Regions from separate parts of the Homo sapiens genome. Here all the other regions are linked to region 1. Evidence: promoter capture Hi-C in 16 types of primary human blood cells and fetal thymus (Javierre and others, 2016). All regions are on one chromosome and are shown on one strand. Each heading gives the region's core, a stretch centred on a gene start or on the middle of the fragment in contact. The rest is flanking DNA. Distances are from core to core; before and after follow the strand shown. Region 1 holds the start of ASPRV1 (aspartic peptidase retroviral like 1). Region 2 overlaps PCYOX1 (prenylcysteine oxidase 1). Region 3 has its middle 2.2 kb from the start of MIR1285-2. Region 4 overlaps TIA1 (TIA1 cytotoxic granule associated RNA binding protein).

Region 1 (3,698 bases), core at 757-3,256:
CGTCCTCCAGCATGCCCTTGGGCTGCCCCACACAGGTCAACACTTGTCTCCTGGCCCTGCTTTCTGCCTCCAAGTTCTCGCTCCTGGACAGCTGTAAGAACCTATTTGCCCAGCAGACACTTTCCTGTTTGTTTATCATAACCATAATTTCCCAATCCCCAATCAAGACATCTCACATAAAACTTTAGGGTCACTTTTGGGTATAGAGGCAATTTGTATGCTAAAATACTACAGATTGAAATAAGTAGAGGAATTATGACGATTCAAAATAATGAGAGCAATTCTGGAGGGAATAAGTCAAAATATTTTATGCTGAGACTGTCTTAGAAAATCCAAGACCTGTCATCCCTGTGTATATGTTCTTATACCTCCAGCTAGGCACTCAGTAGACATGTGAATCTCCCTTGTCTTTGATGCTGACTCCCTCTCACATTCCTCTCATCCTCAATCAACACATTACATGGTTTTTCCATGAATCAATCTTTATTGGTGTTTGCAGCAATTGAATTATTGGCATAAGGCACAATGGGCTTCAAAGCAAATGACAGAAAGAAAATACGATTGTACAGGTGGAAAGGCTCTTCAGGGAGGTGTCCCAGAGCAACTGTGACCCTCACAAAGACCCTGCAGCTAGGACCCAGCCCAACTAAGACAGGCTTTGAGGACCTGAGAGTGACCAAGCCATACCTCAGGGAATCTGAAGGGGTCCCACAGTTCTTTCAAAGACAAGCATTTCTAGCTTCCTTGGGAGCTCTTCCAGCCTTTGAGTCTTTGTCATCAACAGCAGCTTGATGACCATGGGGACCCTGTCCCTCTAAGCCAGCCTGCTCTCCCTCACCTGTGCCTGTTCAGTGGAAGCCTCCCCTACCAGGGGCAGATTAAGGCCCCTGCAGAGGGAGGCAAAGGGGAGAGAAGAGCAAGAGTTGATAAGCAGACTGGCCAAGCCCAGTGACCCCCATGAGGATATGCAACCCCCCCCACAGCGGTGGGTCTTCCCACCAATATTTAGGAGGTTAAAGAAAAGGTGGCTTCTCAGTGGGATAGCTCCTGCCGCCCTTCTTCTGAGGAGGGGTCCTCCTCTATGAGCTCCAGGTCAAACTCATCTTCCAGGGACCCTCCCACAGGCAGAAGGCGAAACTTCTTCCCTTTCAGGGTGCATGTGCGGTGCTCAAAGTCCAGGATAGCATTGTGGTCCTGGAGCACATCAGTGCCAATGATGGCTTCCTCGGCACTCGCATTGGCCACTAGGAACTGTGCCTTCAGCTTCAGCTTGCCTAGGGACACCGCTGTATCCCAGACACCCAGGATCTTCATTTCAGCACCATTGGCCACCTTTACCACATTCTCAAAGGGCTGCAGGGTGTCCAGATCGCCATCAGTGACCTCCTCCCACAAGTTTGGGTGGACCACAGAGACCTGGGCCCCAGAGTCCACCAGGAACCTCACGGGCACTTTGCCAATCTTCCCCTTGAGATAGTAGCCCTTACCCATGCTGTTGGCAAAGACGATCTCTTTGGGCAGGTGGCTGGGGGCAGCCCCAGGGACCCCAAAGGCCTTCAGGAGGGCCTCTTTCACAGTCCCATAGTCTCCCTGGTCCTGGGGACTGAGCCTATTGTAGACACCCAGGGCCTCTCCTCTGAGGGACTCTTTCAGGAACCTTAGCTTGGTGATATGGTCCCAATGGTTGAGGTCATTGATGACTTCAAAGCTGTGCAGCCAGAGGTTTGGGACGACATTGGCCCCATCAAAAGGTTCCGGGACGAAGGCATGCTGCCGGCGGCCTTCCTCACTCCTGGCTCCGCTCCCGGCCATCCTGCTGCTCTCCTCTGGAACCTCAGCAGCAACCCACGCCAAGAAGAGAAACCCACAGAGCAGTGTCGGCGCAATCACGCTGGAAAACGGGGCCTCTCGAAGCAGAGTGGGGATGACTTGCCCGGCCTTGGGCAAGCAGGAGGGAGCAGGCGCGGTCGGCTGGCTGACTGCTGGGGCAGAGGCAGGCAGTGCTGTGGCCTGTTCACTCTGCAGAGCCTTTTTGATGCCTAGGCTGGCCCCTGGGCTCCCCATTCTCCTTTGTTCTGGAAGCTCCGCCCCTCCTCACCCCGCCCTCCTGCCAGCATCCGGCCGGACTAGCAGGATGGGTGCCTCACCCTCTGCATCCATCCTTGGACCAACACCAGCCAGCCCACATCCCAAGAAAGGCCAGCCTCTGTTGAAGGGGGACTACCCTGTACCCTCCCTGGCCTGTGTTCCAGAATAACAGATGAGGACACGGAGGATGTGATGACATTCAGGTATTTGTCATCAGCCAGTGAAGGAAGGGGAGGCAGGGACCAGACGCCCATCAGCTCAGAGACCGGGGAAGCCGCCATTGGCCTCCCCAACAAGTGACTACTTTGAGTGGTCAAAGGAAAACAGTTTACATGTACTGAGCTCCTACCACATGCCAGGCACTGGGAAGTGTCTCACACACATTCTAAAGCAGGTATGGGATCCTATGGGATTTCCTGGAGAGGGAGGCAGAGGAGGGTTCCAGCATAAAGAATGCACAGAAATGGTCTTTTTTAAGTGAGTGAGGACACACACACACACACACACACACACACACACGTGCACAATCATCTTACATGGACTCAACTGCTGCAGTAATTTTCCTTCATTGATCACCCCTGATTCAGAGGCAGAGGGGTGGCCAAGCAACTCTGGGTAGGCCCCATACTGCACTCCATGAGCATTGTCTCCACCCTATCCACCCCTCTCCATTTCCAGGAACTGTTCCAGGGCCCCTTCCCCAGGCACTGCAGCACTTCCTCTCCCACTCCCCAAGCTGGTCATTTGTGGAAAGATCACGGGAAATTTCACTCCCTTTTCATTCTGAGAGGGAAAATGTCCACTATGTTGGTGATGCCAGTGGTGAGGACCTGGAGGGCTCTGGCTCTGTGCCCCTCGCTGCAGGGGTAAAGGGTAGCACGGGAGGACATCCAGTCGTCTACAGAGGACATCTGTGAGTCCAAGGGCTGGAGGCCTGACTTGGGGCTGTGCAGGGGCTGTTGAAGGGATCCACTTTTATGTCCCCATTCAAAGGTCACTCCATGGAGCCTTCTGCCTGTCCCTAGAAAGGGCACCCACTCCTCGTTGAGCGTGTTTTACGGTGTGATCTGGTGGTTTGTTCACAAGTCTGCCTCTTGCTATGAACCAGAGTCTGGGGCTCACAAACCTGGCATTTGTGATTGTCTCCAGCCCCCAGAACAACTTCCTCTGGGACCCAGGGGCTCTTTGCTGGGCTCCAGGCCTAGCTGTGTGCTGTCACCAAACAGGAGTGATTAAGGATGGGAGAGGAGGAAGACTCGATGGCACACCTGTGGCTCTGGGGCTGTTTTTCCTGGCCAAGAGCCTGTCCCTCTTCAGCTCCCTATGCCATGCATCACCCAGTGCCTGGCGGAATCCCAGCAGTACCCTGCCTTTGGACAGTCCTGCCTCTGGATGGCCCAGGTCCCCAACCACAATGCAAGACTGTGCTGTCCCCAGCCCCTTCCACCTGATTCAGTGAGCCAGCAGAGAGGCAGTTGGGTCAACACCTCTCATCACAGCTGCCTGGCTAAGGTGGGGCCATTGTGGCATTCCAGGAGCCCAGAGGAGGGGAAATGGAGTCACCGAGAAGGTGTTGAGAGCAGGTGGTTCTTTGAGAAGACTGTATAATG
Region 2 (3,698 bases), core at 661-3,160, 310 kb after region 1:
GGGACTACAGGCATGCCTCACCATGCCTGGCTAATTTTTTTTTTTTTTTTTTTCTGTAAGTATTTTATTTATCACTGAAGAAAAAACACAGCAGCAAGTTCTGTGTTGGCTTCAATGAGACCAAATAGTTCATCTTTAACATAGCTACTGCGCTCCAAAATTGAAGTCAACACAGTCATTACTACAAATTACTTGTTGAAAGAATCTATCTTCAAAAGAAAGAAAATTAGGAAAGAGAATTTAAACGATTCCTCCAAACCATACATTTATAAATATTGTCATATTTAAAATGCTTGAAAGGCGTGAATTCTCCATTAATGGAAAAGCAGTTTGCTATTGGCAACAGAAAAAAACTCAGCGATAATTTACCAAATGCTTTAAAATTTAAAAGCTATACTGTTTGGATTCACACTTGCGCAGTAATCTTGTCATTACAACAACTGCAAATTGCTTTGTACTCACCTTCTCTCAAGTAAAATCTAAAGAAAACCCCACCGTATCCAATGTTTGTAATGTTTACTTCAAGTGAATCTAAAAAATTTCTAAATTTAGTTTATGGTAAATACCTCAAAATACCTAAAAATAGGTACGTATCAACCACTTAAGGGTGTGAAAATTGTTTCAGATTCACTGCTTTAAAGGGTCTTCAAATATATTTTCTTTAACAGAACCTTACTTCATTCCAAATTATTATCAGATATTTCAAAATAAAAAAAAAGTATCAGTTCTATACCAAGATAAAGGTGTTACTCAATACCTGAAGGTTCACATTTTAAATTTATTTTTTAGTTTTTCTTTTTTGTCAACAAATGATTGATGAAATAATGCAACACCCTTAAATTCCAGAAAATGGCATGGTTTTTCCAACCTCCTGTGGATATGGTGCATGATCAATCTATTATATAGGAGCCTGGCTAATTTTTAATTTTTTTTTTTTTTTTTTTGAGAGGGAGTTTCACTCTGTCACCAAGGCTAGAGTGCAGTGGCACGATCTCGGCTCACTGCAACCTCTACCTCCCAGGTTCAAGCGATTCTCCTGCCTCCACCTCCCAAGTAGCTGGTATTACAGGCATGCGCCACCATGCCCAGTTAATTTTTGTATTTTTAGTAGAGGTGGGGTTTCGCTATGTTGGCCAGGCTGGTCTCAAACTCCTGACCTCAAGCGATCTGCCCGCCTCAGCCTCCCAAAGTGCTGGGATTACAGGCATGAACCACTGCGCCTGGCTAATTTTTACATTTTGTGTACAGACAGAGTCTTGCTATGTTGCCCAGGCTAGTCTTGAACTCCTGGCCTCAAGGTATCCTCCTGTCTTACTCTGTCACCCAGGCTGGAGTATATTGGCTGGCTGTTCACAGGTGCAACCATAATGTACTACAGCCTTGTGCCCCTGGGCTTAAGTGATCCTCCCACCTCAGCCTCTTGAGTAGCTGTGACTACAGGTGCATGCTGCCTCACCTGGGTGCTGTTTTTTAGTAGTATTTATTCTGTTTTTTCATTTATTATTATTATTTTTTTGAGATGGAGTCTTGCTCTGTCATCCAGGGTGTAGTGCAGTGGTGTGATCTTGACTTACTGCAACCTCTGTCTCCTGGGTCAAGCAATTCTCATGCCTCAGCCACCTGAGTAGCTGGGATTACAGGCATGCACCACCACACCTGGATAATTTTTGTATTTTTAGTAGAGATGGGGTTTCACCATGTTGGCCAGGCGGTCTCAAACTACTGACCTCAAGTGATGCTGCCCCACTTTGCCTCCCAAAGTGCTAGGATTACAGGCATGAGCCACCATACCCAGCAGTGTATTTATTCTAATACGATTAGTTGTATCATGAAACAATTAGAGTGCTCTCTGTTTATATTGTGTATATAGTTTCATCTCACCGCTGCCACCCCGCCCCCTCCCAGGGAGACTTGCTTGAGTGAGGTTGCAGCTCTGGCAGGAGCAGTTGGGGAATATGTTTTTTATAGCATCATTAGTAGCTTATTTAATTGACTGTTATTTTCTCATGTTGACCATTAGCCAAAGATCACTCTTCTTTGGATATGAGATATCCAGGCTATTATTTTTCTGAAGAATTCAGTGTTTCCATCCTACTTTTTCCAGTCTCCTAAAGACTGGGACCCAAATGCTATGGTTAGAAGGTATTTAGTTTCTCAGTTTTGGCATAGATATCGAATCAGTTTTTCCAATAAAAATGTGTTTAACATTTTGTACACTTATACTACTACTATGCTTTTAGTAGGTAATACTGAAATGGTTATAATACTGTCCCTTGTTCTGTAAAAAAATATAGTACATTTTGAGAGAAAAACTTGATGTGAAAGTTTCCCTTCCATGATCAGTGATAGGGATCTTTCCTTGGCTCTTAATTTCTTATTTTCATATACTTATCTCTGCATGTGCCTTATTACTTATCCCTAACTATAAGCCCCTTAAGGGAATAAGAGATAAACCCCGTATTACTTATCCCAAACTTAAGCCTGTTTTCCATCTTTGTACTATTTGCAACATGAAAAATTGTGTTTGAATTACTGAATGCACTAATTTATGTGAATGTTGTTTTAAATCCATAAAATGCAGAGAAGTGTTGGGTGATATTTTTCTTTTTGGTCAAGTGATGTTTTCTAAAAAATAATAGAAAGCATCTAATTGTTGAATGAGTGGCATTGGTGCTAAGTTTTATGAGGCTTCTGGAGATGATATAACTGTGGACTGGGAAGTTGAGCAAGACTTTTCAGAGAAGGTGGGATTCAAGTTCTGTTAAGGAAGAATAGATGTTCCATGGTTAGGAATGGGAAGTGTATTCAGGTTGGAGGGAAGAGCTTGTGCACTGGTGGGGATACAGCATGTAGGGCAAATTTAGAGACCAGTGAATGGGTCAGGTGTGCTCCAGTGGAGACTGTGCATGTGTGGGTGATTGACAGCAGAGTGGGCAAGTTGTGATTGAGCCTTATACTTGCCATGTGGCCTTTAGACAAAGTATTTTACTTCTACTTTTTTTTTTTTTTTTTTTTGAGATGGAGTCTCGCTCTGTTGCCCAGGCTGGAGTGCAGCGGTGTGATCTCGGCTCACTGCAACCTCCGCTTTCTGGGTTGAAGCGATTCTCCTGCCTCAGCCTCCTGAATAGCTGGGATTACAGGCGTGCGCCACCAGGCCCAGCTAATTTTTGTATTTTTAGTAGAGACGGGGTTTCACCATGTTGGTCAGGCTGGTCTCAAACTCCTGACCTAGTGATCTGCCTGCCTTGGCCTTCCAAAGAGCTAGGATTACAGGCATGAAACCACCGCGCCTGGCCTTACTTCTACTTTTTATTTTTCCTTTTTCTTCTTCTTTCTTTCTTCCTTAGTTTCTTTTCTTTTTTTTTTTCTTTTTTTTTTTTTAAGAGACACTGTCACTGTCTGGCCCAGGCTGGAGTGCAGCGGCATTATCACAGTTCACTGCGGCCTTGAATTCCGGGGCTCAAGCAGTCCTCCTGCCTCAGCCTCCCAAGTAGCTGGGACCACAGGCATACACCACTATGCCTGGTTAATTTTTGTATTTTTAGTAAAGCTGGGGTTTTGCCATGTTGGCCAGGCTGGTCTTGAACTCCTGACCTCAGGTGACCTGCCCACCTCTGCCTCCCAAAGTGTGGGGATTATAGGCGTGAGCCACTGCACCTAGATGTCAGTTTGATTCTTATGACGCCACTTCCCTTCTT
Region 3 (3,698 bases), core at 592-3,091, 290 kb after region 1:
AATTTTTTTGTATTTTTTCGTAGAAACGGGGTTTCGCCATTTTGCTCAGGCTGGTCTCGAACCCTGGGCTCAAATCGTCCGCCTGCCCTAGCCTCCCAAAGTGCTGGGATTACAGGTGTGAGCCACTGAGCCCAGCCTCTTTCTCCAAGTTTAACTTTATTTTGTATCCAACCTATTTTCTTCTCATCTATATTGTTCTTCATGTTCATGTACTAGTTATTTTTGTTTGTTTGTTTGGGTGAAGTATTGTAATTACAGAAATGAGACTTTTTTTTTTTAAATGAAAGGCCTCACATATTTATTACTGAACCCAGCCAACCAATGCGTTCATAACAGATTCGGAGAGGAAAACACGTCGAACTCTCCAGATAGGGGTGACATTTTCAGCTTGATATGGTAACGTGATCGTGACCTTCAGACAGCATAAATATGTGTGCCATCTCATGTACAATTCCTTATAGACCCAGCTTGGTTCTTCTCCAATGTCTCCTTTTGGAGTTGTACCTGATTTTATTTCCAGTTTTCATCCGAATCCACTGGGGAATGGGACGATTTTGCTTTTGTTTCTTGGGCAGGAATCACTTAATCCTGAAAGTCTTGTGAGAAGACATGGTGAGGGTGGAGTCAAGAACACACCACGATGGCAGAGAAAGGAAAAGAGGCATGAGATCATTTTATACCCATCATGCAACCACAAGCTTTTCTCAACTGATAATACTAGGACATTAGTTATAGACCCATTTTTTTTTTTTTTGAGACGGAGTCTCACTCTGTCGCCCAGGTTGGAGTGCAGTGGCGTAATCTTGGCTCACTGCAGCCTCTGCCTCCTGGGTTCAAGCAATTGTCCTGTCTCAGCGTTCCTGAGTAGCTGGGATTACAGGTGTGCGCTACCACGCCTGGCTGATTTTTATATTTTTAGTAGTAGAGACAGGGTTTCACCATGTTGACCAGCCTGGTCTCAAATTCCTGACCTCAGGTGATCTGCCTGCTTCAGCCTCCCAAAGTGCTGGGATTACAGGTGTGAGCCACTGCGCCAAGCTCCAACATTCTTTTTTTGTAATTTTTTTTTTTTTTGAGATCAGCCTGTCAGGTTGGAGTGCAGTGGTGCAATCTCAGCTCACTGCAACCTTGGCCTCCCAAGTTCAAGTGATTCTCCTGCCTCAACCTCCCAAGTAGGTGGGATTACAGGCATGCATCACCACGCCCAGCTAATTTTTGTATTCTTAGTAGAGGCAGAGTTTTGCCACGTTGGCCAGGCTGGTCTTGAACTCCTGACCTCAGATATTCTGCCTGCCTTGGTCTCCCAGAGTGCTGGGATTACAGGCGTGAGCCACCGTGCCTGGCTTCCTTTTAATGCATGCATAATGTTCTATTGTATGGTATGTTGGGGAGAAAAAAAGAGTTTTCCTCTACCCTTCCGAGGTTTTGGTTGTGATAGACCCCTGTAACAAAAGACAGATTAACAAGAAGAAAACAAACAGGACCAGGCATGGTGGCTCATGCCTGTAATCCCAACACTTTGGGAGCCCAGGAGTTCCAGACCAGCCTGGGCAATATGGCAAAAAACCATCTCTACAAAAAATGTAAAAATTAGCTGGGCATGGTAGTGGATGCCTGTGGTCCCAGGTACTCTACTCTGGTGGCTGAGGTGGGTGGATCGCTTGAGCCCAGGAGCGAGAGGTTGCAGTGAGCCGTGATAGTGCCATTGCACTTCAGCCTGGGTGACAGAGCGAAGCCATCTCAAAATAAATAAAAGAAAGAAAGAAAAAAAGAAAAACAGAAATTTAAAAACATGTACGTCACGTATTCAAAAGAGAGACCAGGGAAATGAGCAAATCTCCAAGAGGTAGCTTTGAATTCAGGATTATACAGCATCTTCAAAAAAGAACAGTATATGTTTAGAGAAGTGTTAAGAGAACCGGGCACAGTGACTCACGCCTGTAATTCCAGCACTTTGGGAGGCCGAGGTGGGCGGATCACCTGAGGTCGGGAGTTCGAGACCAGCCTAACCAACACGGAGAAACCCCATCTCTACTAAAAATACAAAATTAGCTGGGTGTGGTGGCGCTTCCCTATAATCCCAGCTACTCAGGAGGCTGAGGCAGGAGAATTGCTTGAACCCGAGAGGCGGACGTTGCCGTGAGACTGCGCCATTGCACTCCAGCCTGGGCAACAAGAGCGAAACTTCGTCTCAAAAAAAAAAAAAAAAAGAAAGAAAGAAAAAAAAAGAGAAGTGTTAAGAGAAGGAAAATGATTTTGAGTCTCTAGGGGTGGCAAATTATGGGAAGGCAAATACGCGATAGAAAAAGGCTCATTAATGAAGTTTGTCATGTAGATTCCTGGCTGATAAAGGTTTGTCAAAAGACAAAATTACAACTAATTTAGTTTAAAGAGCATAATTGGCTTTTAGTTGCGATTGTAGAATTGTGCAACACCTCATTTTATAAAATCGAATGAGTGTTCCTATGAGTTGAGTGGAGGAGGTTGGCTTTCAGAAAGGGCTGAAGAAAGCAGAAACAGAAAAGTGCATTGGTTGTTTCGAGGTTACTTTCCTTGAAAAGTTTAAAGCAGAGGGTATTTCCTTATCATGTCACTTCAAACTGGTCTGTCGGGAATTTGGCTATTATTTTTCTTTCTCCTGATTTCTTAGAAAGTCAGATCGACAACTTAGTTTTGACCTTGTGATGTGGAACATGAGTGACTTGAGTGACTCCATTTTGGTTTAGTCTGTTGGGCCTAGTCTAGTGCAGGAGCTCAGTCCAAACCAATGGCTTCCTATGAATTTTATTTAACAGGCGTAAAATTGTCTTTAGTGATTAACCTTTGTCCTTCCAGGCAGTGTGGGAAGAGGGATACCTTTGCCTTTTAAAATTTATGTCCTGCTTTACTTCAGACATTACACTAAATAGGAGTGTTGAGTATAAAAATGAATTCACAATTAAAGTTGTTAAATTATTTGTATATAACTTTAAAAGGAGTTTTTTTGAAGCTTTGTAATTACATTGAAAGTATATTTGTTTCCTTGAAAACAATTTTTTGAAAAGTGAATAATAATATAATACAGCTTTCAAATTACTTTATGCTGTTACTTTATTTCTATTGTATTCACATGTGAAAGTATGTGATCAGTTGTTGCTGTATCAGAGATATTAGAGATTCTTTATTAGTTGGGCATTCTTTATGACCTTTTCTATAAAAGAGTAAGGACATTAAAATGTAAGATGCATGATAAAAATATAAGTAGCGAGGCTCATTGTAGTTAGCCTAAATTAAGTAATGTTTAAGGTAGGTGTTCATGGCCAGGCGCGGTGGCTCACACCTGTAATCCCAGCACTTTGTGAGGCCGAGGCGGGTGGATCATGAGGTCAGGAGATCGAGACCATCCTGGCTGACACACTGAAACCTCGTCTCTACTAAAAATACACAAAATTAGCCAGGCACGGTGGCGGGTGCCTGTAGTCCCAGCTACAGGCTGAGGCAGAAGAATTGCTTGAACCCGGGACGTAGAGTTTGCAGTGAGCTGAGATCGCACCACTGCACTCCAGACTGGGCAACAGAGCGAGACTCCGTCTCAAAAAAAAAAAAAAAAAGTAAGTGTTCAGAGTAATACTTTTCTACATTATACTGAGAGAAATTATAAATTATAAAGTATATCAAATTATATTATTTTACTAATTTTACTTTTATGTAATAAAATG
Region 4 (3,698 bases), core at 797-3,296, 270 kb after region 1:
ACATCTATAATCCCAACACTTTGCGAAGCCGAGGCAGGCAGATCACCTGAGGTCAGGAGTTTGAGACCAGTCTGGCTAACATGGTGAAACCTCATTTCTACTAAAAATACGAAAAATTAGCTGGGTGTGGTGGTGCGTTCCTGTAATCCCAGCTACTAGGGAGGCTGAGGCAGGAGAATCACTTGAACCCAGGAGGCAGAGGTTGCAGTGAGCCAAGACTGTGCCATTGCACTCCAGATTGGGCAACAAGGGCAAAATTTCATCTCAAAAAAAAAAAAAAAGTGTTTAATGTTTCTAAAAAGGAAACAAAATCATATATAACTTAAATTTTTTCAGTGCAAGTCACCTTCTTTAATTACGACAGCTTACCTTACCCATTATCTTCCGTCCATTCATAGCAGCTAATGCTGCAGCTGCATGACGATGCTCATGAAACTCCACAAAACAATAGGGATCATTTCCAGCTGTCTGTGGGAGAAGAAACACAAAAGCCAATTTTAAGCTTTATTCACCCATTACCTTAAAATTATGTAAAAAAAAAAATCTTAAACCAAGTTTTATACATCTAAGTTATCAGGCCATGGAGAATGAATGGTCTATTCCACAAGTAAATTTTAGATTTAAAAAAGTAGGCTGGGTGAGGTGGCTCACACCTGTAATCCCAGCACTTTGGGAGGCCAAGGCAGGTGGATCATGAGGTCAGCAGTTTGAGACCAACTTGGCCAACGTGGTGAAACCCTGTCTCTATTAAAAAAAAATACAAAAATTAACCAGGCATGGTGGCAGGCTCCTGTAATCCCACCTACTCGGGAGGCTGAGGCAGGAGAATTGCTTGAACCCGGGAGGTGGAGGTTGCAGTAAGCTGAGACTGCGCCACTGCACTCCAGCCTGGGCGACAGAGCAAGACTCCGTCTCAAAAACAAACAAACAAAAAAGTAAACAGCCAGCTCCTGTAGTCCCAGCTACTTTAGGAGGCTGAGGTGGGAGGAATGCTTGAGCCCAGGAGTTTGAATCCAGCCTGGGCAACACAGCAAGATCCTGTCTCTAAAATAATTAAAAAGTAAAAAAAAAAAAGCAAACACTTAAAATCACACTGCTTTTATACATAGCTATTTTCTTCAACAGGTTATACTATAGTACTATAATTTAATATTAATGACTAGGTATCCTAACTGGATATATAGCTACACATACCCCATCATCATATAACCATTTGTTCAAGCTACACAGATTAAGTTTGACTGAACTCCTAAGTTCTGAAGTCTCACTTCGGCTTTTTATGATTTTTCTATCCCCTCCCTGTTATAAGTTACTTTTTACTGCTACAAATGTACATTGCTCCTTGCTGCTACTAGCTTGCTGAGTAGCAGAAAATCTTAGCCAACCTTCTTAAACCTGTTTTAAAATATAGGTAAATAGGCTCTGAAAACTGAAGAGATTCTCTGGTAAGTAAAATTTTAGAATAAGTTTTAGAATGTGAACTTTCTGACATCAATTTTTTGCTTGCTCAGAAGCCTTTAAAAAATTATCTTCCCGCCAGGCGCAGTGGCTCATGCCTGTAATCCCAGCACTTCGAGAGGCCGAGGCAGGCGGATCATGAGGTCAGGAGATCGACACCATCCTGGCTAGCACGGTGAAACCCCGTCTCTACTAAAAATACAAAAAATTAGCCGGGCCTGGTGGCGGGCGCCTGTAGTCCCAGCTACTCAGGAGGCTAAGGCAGGAGAATGGCGTGAACCCAGGAGACGGAGCTTGCAGTGTGCAGTGAGCCGAGATTGCACCACTGCACTCCAGCCTGGGCGACAGAGCGAGACTCTGTCTCAAAAAAAAAAAAAAAAAGAAAAAAGAAAAAAGAAAAAAAATTATCTTCCCAGCCAGGCATGATGGCTCACACCTGTAATCCCAGCACTTTGGGAGGCCAAGGTGGGCTGATCACCTGAGGTCAGGAGTTTGAGACCAGCCTGACCAACATGGTGAAACCCTGTCTCTACTAAAAATACAAAATTAGCCGGGCGTGGTGGTGCATGCCTGTAATCCCAGCTACTCGGGAGGCTGAGGCAGGAGAATCGCTTGAACCCTGGAGGCGAAGGTTGTGGTGAGCCGAGATTGCGCCATTGCACTCCAGCCTGGGCAACAAGAGTGAAACTCTGTCTCAAAAAAAAAAAAAAAAAAAAAAAAAAAAAAAAAATTATCTTCCCTTGGCCGGGCACAGTAGCTCATGCCTGTAATCTCAGCACTCTGGGAGGATGAGGCAGGTGGATCACCTGAGGTCAGGAGTTCGAGACTAGCCTGGCCAAAATGGTGAAACCTCATCTCTACTAAAAATACAAAAATCAGCTGGGTGTGGTGGCGTGTGCTTGTAATCCCATCTACTCGGGAGGCTGAGGCAGGAGATTCGCTTGAACTCAGGAGGGGGACGTTGCAGTGAGCCAAGATGGTGCCACTGGATTCCAGTCTGGGCGCACAGCGAGACTCTGTCTCAAAAAAAAAAACAAAACTTCCCTTTTCTGCTGGTGTTCCAGGTAGGTGAGGCTATGTGATAAATAGAACCTGGATGTTTAATTATAAATTCAAGTAGCAGAAAAAAATTCCAATTTTTACACCTACAGTGCAAAATATCAAATGACATTATAGGCCATTTTAAAATTCTTTCCATAGCCTCCTAAACAGATTTGTTAAAATAAAAAACTAATTCAAAAGACTAGAAAGCTACTAAAATAGAGGAATATACAATTTTATTTCAAGTACAGTTAATTAATTTTTTTTTAGAGATGTGGTCTTGTTATGTTGCCCAGGCTGGTCTCAAATTCCTGGGCTCAAGTGATCCTCCAGCCTCTGCCTCCCAAAGTGTTGGGATTACAGGCATCAGTCACTGTGCACATCAACAATTAATAGTTTGAGAGTCACTGGCAATGACTTGTAAAAATTTTAAAGCAACGAGGCCAAGACAAAGTTTAATATATTGGGACTATATTTTGTCTAAAAAAATTAGAGAATAAAAATGTTATATAACTCAAACTAATAAAACACAATGGGAATTCTATTACCAAGATCAATGCTGACAGGCAACACTGAAATGAAGTTAGAAAAAGTCACTTGCGGCTGGCTGTGGTGGCTCACGCCTGTAATCCCAGCACTTTGGGAAGCTGGGGTGGGCGGATCATGACATCAGGAGATCAAGACCACCTGGCCAACATGGTGAAACCCTGTCTCTACTGAAAATACGAAAACTAGCCAGGTGTGGTGGCGCATGCCTGTAATCCCAGCTACTTAGGAGGCTGAGGCAGGAGAATAGCTTGAACCTGGGAGGCAGAGTTTGCAGTGAGCTGAGATCATGCCATTGCACTCCAGCCTGGGCAACAGAGTGAGACTCTGTCTAAAAAAAAAAAAAGAAAAAGTCACTTGCATTTAAGAGTAAATAAATGAAAAAGAATATGCTTTACTTAATTTATATGCAGAAAAAACTAACTTTTTAAATAAGAATCGAAGCATATATACATATTATCAGTCCAGGGAGCATAAAATTTATAAATGTGAACATTAGTCTCAGAATGTGAACAGACTGGAATTTAGATTTGAATAATAAAAATCTAAGCTTTTGAGCGATCAGAATCCACAAATGATAAAAAGTGGCAAAGGCTAACCTGGTTTTTTCTGTAGCCAAGGCAATCATTAACGTTTTGTCTAATGATCTTTCC

What was found. Contacts are between HindIII fragments. The CHiCAGO score rates a contact against its expected background, and 5 or more counts as called.
Region 2: a contact is called between a fragment that was not itself captured here and the fragment with the promoter of ASPRV1 in region 1, in 1 of 17 cell types (neutrophils). The highest score is 6.0, in neutrophils.
Region 3: a contact is called between a fragment that was not itself captured here and the fragment with the promoter of ASPRV1 in region 1, in 1 of 17 cell types (neutrophils). The highest score is 5.0, in neutrophils.
Region 4: a fragment that was not itself captured here is called in contact with the fragment with the promoter of ASPRV1 in region 1 in 8 of 17 cell types (total CD8 T cells, activated CD4 T cells, naive CD8 T cells and 5 more); the score reaches 7.5 in total CD8 T cells.

What each region holds. Positions count from the first base shown.
Region 1 is chr2:69,959,625-69,963,322 of GRCh38, forward strand. It overlaps ASPRV1 (aspartic peptidase retroviral like 1), which reads right to left and starts at 2,007. Exons shown (of 1, transcript NM_152792.4): 1 at 465-2,007. The coding sequence starts at 1,812. The coding sequence ends at 1,033. It overlaps PCBP1-AS1 (PCBP1 antisense RNA 1), which reads right to left. Exons shown (of 11, transcript NR_033872.1): 11 at 2,639-3,698. RefSeq lists a silencer at 1,893-2,187. The HindIII fragment of the contact is 12,271 bases long and covers 1-3,698 here.
Region 2 is chr2:70,271,201-70,274,898 of GRCh38, forward strand. All of the region lies in intron 3 of PCYOX1 (prenylcysteine oxidase 1), which reads left to right. Among named protein-coding and RNA genes, the nearest start is that of PCYOX1, 15 kb to the left of the region's middle. The HindIII fragment of the contact is 5,117 bases long and covers 1-3,698 here.
Region 3 is chr2:70,253,400-70,257,097 of GRCh38, forward strand. It overlaps the pseudogene RPL39P15. Among named protein-coding and RNA genes, the nearest start is that of MIR1285-2, 2.2 kb to the left of the region's middle. The HindIII fragment of the contact is 2,291 bases long and covers 697-2,987 here.
Region 4 is chr2:70,230,387-70,234,084 of GRCh38, forward strand. It overlaps TIA1 (TIA1 cytotoxic granule associated RNA binding protein), which reads right to left. Exons shown (of 13, transcript NM_022173.4): 3 at 370-468. Among named protein-coding and RNA genes, the nearest start is that of TIA1, 16 kb to the right of the region's middle. The HindIII fragment of the contact is 3,093 bases long and covers 501-3,593 here.